2 separate regions of the Homo sapiens genome follow, and region 1 is linked to region 2. Evidence: promoter capture Hi-C in human tissues and cell types (Jung and others, 2019). All regions are on one chromosome and are shown on one strand. Each heading gives the region's core, a stretch centred on a gene start or on the middle of the fragment in contact. The rest is flanking DNA. Distances are from core to core; before and after follow the strand shown.

What was found. Contacts are between HindIII fragments. The study calls those that stand out against the background at their distance.
Region 1: a contact is called between a fragment that was not itself captured here and the fragment with the promoter of ALG9 in region 2, in 1 of the 25 tissues and cell types used here (mesendoderm cells).

Annotation. Positions count from the first base shown.
Region 1 is chr11:111,690,170-111,693,481 of GRCh38, forward strand. All of the region lies in intron 4 of SIK2 (salt inducible kinase 2), which reads left to right. It also overlaps a transcript of PPP2R1B not described here. Among named protein-coding and RNA genes, the nearest start is that of PPP2R1B, 75 kb to the right of the region's middle. RefSeq lists an enhancer at 2,453-2,966. The HindIII fragment of the contact is 5,056 bases long and covers 1-3,312 here.
Region 2 is chr11:111,870,283-111,873,191 of GRCh38, forward strand. It overlaps ALG9 (ALG9 alpha-1,2-mannosyltransferase), which reads right to left and starts at 1,299. Exons shown (of 15, transcript NM_024740.2): 1 at 1,070-1,299; 2 at 1-88. The coding sequence starts at 1,200. RefSeq lists a silencer at 935-1,244. The HindIII fragment of the contact is 8,331 bases long and covers 1-2,909 here.

The DNA of each region.
Region 1 (3,312 bases), core at 142-2,641, 180 kb before region 2:
TTTTTTGCCAACCTTCTGTGAGGAACTTCACTGGGATATTTTGTTTAATGCTCCTTGAAAGCATCGGCTGCCCTAAAATTGTCTTTTTCAGAGAAGGTCTTTCTTTTTTTTTTTTTTTTTAAGTCCTTAGCTCTGTAGAAAGAAGGGGGAAAACTCCTGCTACACCTTTACATTCCCTTATTACCAAAACGAAATATTTACCAAAACAATAGCACAAAGGAGTTCTAGGAGTTGTTTTTTTTTCCAAGAGAACTATTTTATTTATTTTTTATTTTTTATTATTATTTTTTTACTTTAAGTTCTGGGATACATGTGCTGAATGTGCAGCTTTGTTACGTAGGTATACATGTGCCATGGTGGTTTGTTGCACCTATCAACTCGTCATCTAGGTTTTAAGCCCTGCATGGATTAGGTATTTGTCCTAAGGCTCTCCCTCCCCGCCTCCCCTCACCCCCAAAGAGGCCCCCATGTGTGATGTTCCCCTCCCTGTGTCCATGTATTCTCATTGTTCAACTCCCACTTATGAGTGAGAACATGTGGTGTTTGGTTTTCTATTCCTTTAGTTTGCTGAGGATGATGGTTTCCAGCTTCATCCATGTCCCTGCAAAGGACATGAACTCATTCTTTTTTTATGTCTGCGTAGTATTCCATTGTGTATATGTGCCACGTTTGCTGTATCCAGTCTATCATTGACAGGCATTTGGGTTGGTTCCAAGTCTTTGCTATTGTAAATAGTGCTACAAGAAACATACATGCACATGTGTTCTAGGAGTTTTTTTAGGCAGAGAAAGGTTATAGGTGTGTAAATCATATGCTGTAGGAATTACAAAGTGCTGTCACTAACATCTCAAAAGAAAATGTCAAAGTAAGACACCAAAGAAACTTGCAAACAAAAAACAGAATATTGCTTTGACGTTATAACCAAGTTTTGCCTGGCTATAGTATGTCTATTATAATTCTGGCATAAAATATACGTGGGTCAAATCAGTGTTTCTGATGTCATTGTGTGATATCTTAGGTTTTTGTTTTGTCTTTTTGGTTTTTATTTTTGCTTTTTAGTATCTAATCTTCAAGCCCTTCTAATTATATAGAAGTCAGATAAAAATTCAGATTGGTGAAGTTCTCTCTGGTGAAGACAGTGTGATGACTCACATTTAATTGGGCCCTCACTGTTTTCAGGTATTCTGCTAGATACTTACTTCATCTTCACAGCAATCTTGGGAGCCGCTTAGCTATTGCCAGTTACTAGATGAGAAAGCTGAGATGCAAAGAGATTAAAAAATTGGCCGAGCTGACACAGATAATAAGTAGCAGACCTGGAATTCAAACCTAGGTCTCTCTGACCACAGTATCTGTCCTTCTCCCACTACACCATTTTGTCATTTCCAAGCATTCTGTGTCACTTCTTCCTAAAGGGGTACTCACTAATTGAATTTTGGGGTCCATCATTCTATGGTTGTACATTTAGTGTCCCTGCTTCCATTCATTACAAGCAGACACACACACACATGTGTGCACAGAGTATATCTAAGCACTCAAATTTTCTTGCCCACACTTAATTCTCTATCATCTCCACTATCCTCAAAAATTTTAGTAAATGTTTATTAAGCTTCTACTCTGCTCTTGGACTAAGTCCTGGATATTCATACATTTCAAGACAAAAACAGCAGCAGTGACAAAAAGCTTAACTCTGCTCTTACCTCAAGGAGTTAATCAAATAAGAACCAGACCTTTAAGTTAATATAACACAAAAAGATCATTGTTTTCAGGGACATGAGGCTAGGAGAAAGACTAACTCTGTCTGGAAGAATCAGGGAAATTATTAGCTAACACTTGATTAACAAGAAGGTATTTGTGGCAGGATTGGGGATCGGGGAGACAGAGAAAGAAAGAGGGAGAGGCCAGGCTCGGTGGCTTATGCCTGTAATCCTAGCACTTTGGGAGGCCAAGACGGGCAGATTGCCTGAGCTCAGGAGTTCGAGACCAGCCTGGGCAACATGGTGAAACCTCGTCTCTACTAAAATACAGAAAATTAGCCAGGAATGGCAGCATGCGCCTGTAGTCCCAGCTACTCCGGAGGCTGAGGCAGGAGAATTGCTTGAACCCAGGAGGTGGAGGTTGCAGTGAGCTGAGATCCTGCCACTGCACTCCAGCCTAGGCAACAGAGCGAGACTCAGTCTCAAAAAAAAAAAAAAAAAAAAAAAAAAAAAAAAAAAAAACACAAAAAGGAGAGAGGGAGAGAGAGAGATAGAGATCGAGGCTGGGGTATCTGCCTCAAGCAGATGGATCCACACATGCAAAGGCTGAGAGGCCAGAGCGAATTGGAGTGGTAAGGAAACTGCAGGTATTAGCCAGTGAGAATGATAGGAAAAAAGCCAGGAGAGGCGGGCATGGGCCAGATCATTCACGTGCTATAAAGTGTTTAGATGGATTCCAATGTCTTTAAAGAATTTCTCTAGGATATTTATTTTTATCTGTAAATTTTATAACTTCTTGATGGCCCTGATTTTCTTTAAGGATCATCTTCTTATCTCTGAGAACTCTTAAATCTTAATGGAATCTAACACATGGGAAAAATAGGGCTCTGTGGGAAGAAATTACAAGAACCCTTACAAAGTTATTCCCTCAAATTATACTTTTTTCTGGGTTTTTTTTTTGGCTTATGAAAATCTCTTTAATTGCAAAATAAGCTGAATAAATGAACTGCTTTAGCCATCTTGTATATTGAAATTGAAGAGAAGCACAAAATTAAAATATTTTTGTGTTTATAAAACAAAATGGAATAGAAGTATCAAACATGGTTCATTTTAATAAATAACAGAAACATGGCTTTGAGATCAGTTTCCAGGTTTTGTTTTCCCCGTGGGTAAAAACTTGAGACAGGCCGGGCGCAGTGGCTCACGCCTGTAATCCCAGCACTTTGAGGGGCCAAGGTGGGCGGATCACGAGGGCAGGATTTCGAGACCATCCTGGCCAACATGGTGAAACCCCGTCTCTACTAAAAATACAAAAATTAGCTGGGCATGGTGGTGCATGCCTGTAATCCCAGCTACTCAGGAGGCTGAGGCAGGAGAGAATCGCTTGAACCAGGGAGTCAGAGGTTGCAGTGAGCCGAGATTGTGCCACTGCCCTCCAGCCTGGTGACAGAGGAGACTCCGTCTCAAAAAAAAAAAAAAAACTTGAGACACTAATGAGCCATGGATTCACCCACACCAGTGTGTACTCATTGCCTCAACCATGAGACCTGCAACCTTTGTAAAAAGTGAGTGTGAGGACATTCACAGTAGGAGGCTGAATGCAAATACTGGCTTT
Region 2 (2,909 bases), core at 49-2,548:
AGCAGCACATAACCTTGCTGAAAGCAGACACTTGAAAGCAGTAGATCCTTCAGGTGCCCAGACTTGTCCTGCTTTGTTCCCAGATAACCTGTTCAAAAGCAAAAAAAAAAAAAAAAAAAAAAGCATGTCAGGAAGGACCTGCTAATCAGAAGACCTAAATCTAGATAGAAAGGACAAAAAGGGCAAGGGACATCAAAGCACTTAAGTTATTCACCTAAAAAGGTGAATAGCTAGTTGTTTTTTCTCAGTAAAATTAATAAAAATTCAGATTTTTAAGAAAAAATTTTTATGAGATAGGGTCTTGCTATGTTGCCCAGGCTGGACTTAAACTCCTAGGCTCAAGTAATCCTCCTGCCTCAGCCTTCTGAAGAATTGACTTTAATCACTCAATCACTCCTTCCACTTCCTGCTTTTAAGGCATAAATTAACTCATACACTTTAGCTCAATGCATTTATGTCACTCCATTTATCCCAAGCCAACTAATCACTCACTTGAAGGCCACAAAGCTGTCATTCTCCTTTTCTTTCTTTTCTTAACAAGGTCATTGCTTTTGATGGCTTTATTCATTCCCCCTTATGTTCAGATAGAAGCCTAGGTGCAAGGTACATAGCCTACTCCAATTCCATATGTTGACAGCTCCCTTAATGCAGTTCTAACCTGCAGCCTCCAGGGTTTGGGAAGAGGTGATGGCGGGTTGGATGGGCCCAGTAAAGGGTCGGGACTTGAGGGAGAATAAAAGGAGCTGTGAGGAACAGCCGTAAAAGGTATACTCTTTGATCCTGTCTACATCTCCCACAGAGGCTGTGCCCACTCTAGGCCTGGCCCAGGAGCATCACAGATCCGCACTCCAAGGCAGTTTTACAGCGCAGTGGAGGGATCTAAGGTGGGCGAAGACTGAATGCTGACCCGCCCAGGAAGACCAATAGGACCTAGCTGAAGAGGGAGCTCGGGCCTCCCGCGGTGAGGCCAGGCCGGACTGAGCCCCGCGCGCCACAGCTAAGACCCTCCCGGGGGCAGCCCCGAACCGCCCCGCCGGCCGGCCACGCCCCTGCCGCGCCGCACACGTACTCGGTCCGGTGCTCCGCGCCGCCCGCCTCTCGGCTGCCCAGCAGCTCCCGCAGCTTGTCCGCAGCCGGGGCCGTATCCCCACTGCTGGCCCCGCTGCCCTTCAGGCGCTGCCGAGCCCCTCGACTAGCCATGGCAAGCCTGGGGAAAAAAGAATTCGGCACCCTATGAAGTCGGTGAGCGCGCAGACATAGCTTTGGCTGGCAAACGGTGTCCGCCGAGGGACAAAAGACCTTGACATGCGCAGAAAATACTAAATTATAGCGTTACTGGGCCAATTGGGGCAGATCCCCGAGTAGCGAAGAAATAGAACCTGAGGAGTTTCTTCATCAGGGCTGTCCCATCCACCTGCTTCTAACTCTAGCCATTCCTACCTCCCTCCAACCCTCTTTTCCGTCACTTTTCAGCATTCTCCATTCTCAAAAAAAAAAAAAACCACCTCTCAGCTCCCCTATTTAAATGAAAAAACAAATAGAAAGTGATTAAAGAAATCTACATAGTGAGATGTGAAGTATTCAGTTAAATATCACAGCACAGCTATCTACTAAAAGGTCCTTAAAATGTCATTTTTAACACCTTGCCTTCTCTGTATTTTGGTAAGAGTGACAGAGGCAGCCTGTAGCTAAAAACTGCTTCAGAGAGACAAACCGGTAATGGCAGAGTGTAGACTGATGAAATTCTGTGCGGCAAATTGAACCAGATGTCCATCACTGTCATCGCTACTACGGCATTGTGGTAGGCATTTTACATATTTTATCCTTTTTAAACTTAATACAACAACCTTGTTTTATTTACCAGGAAACTAAATAAACTTGGAGCTAGTAAATGGTGGAGCTATGTTCCAGCCCAGGACTATCTTACCGGAAAGCCCATGCTCTCTCTTCCCACCAGATCTGGTGAAAGGTCTTCATTTCCTACAATCATTTTTATACTGGCACATTGATGATATCATACCTGTGACCCCCATATCTTGGGGGTCATTCATCTAATCCTGACACTCTATCCACTCCTCTAATCACAGAGCTATATCCTACCCTGTCGAGCTCCATGCCAGTAACTGGGACAAGTTTATAGAGGGAATGCTAATCTCTTGACAAGGTCTCAGAAGGTTGTGATTTCCTACTAAAAATTCCCAAGTATTGAAAATGGAGATTGATCATATTGCTCAATTCTCACATGCAGTCATTAGTTACCAAGTTCAAATATCCAGCTTAACTCTTTTTTTCTTTTCTTTTTCTTCTTTTTTTTTTTTTTTTTTTGAGACAAGAGTCTTCCTTGCTCACCCAGGCTAGAGTGCAGTGGCACAATCTCAGCTTACTGCAACCTCTGCCCCCTAGGTTCAAGAGATTGTCTTGCCTCAGCCTCCCTAGTAGCAGGGACTATTGCCACCACACTGGCTAATTTTTGTATTTTTAGTAGAGATTAGGTTTCGTCATGTTGGCCAGGCTGGTCTGGAACTCCTGGCCTCAAGTGATCCACTTACCTCAGCCTCCCAGAATGCTGGGATTATAGGCGTGAGCCACTACACCCAGCCTAACTGTATCTCATATACCCATCTCCTCCTTTTCATTTAAGTCTAATGCAGGTCCCTCCCTGTCTACGTAGGACTAACACAATAGCATCTCCACAGGGATCACTCATCTCAAATTCATCCTGTGCAACATTAACCAGTTAATTTTCCAAAGCACTACTCTGGGGCACTTCCTTAATAAAAAACCACCGGATGTTTTCCTATTGCCTACCAAATAAAGTACAAACTCCTTATTCTAGCATTTGGTATTCATGAACTCCAGCCCCAACTTACCGTTCCAATCTTATCTCCCACTACTTTCCTATGCACACT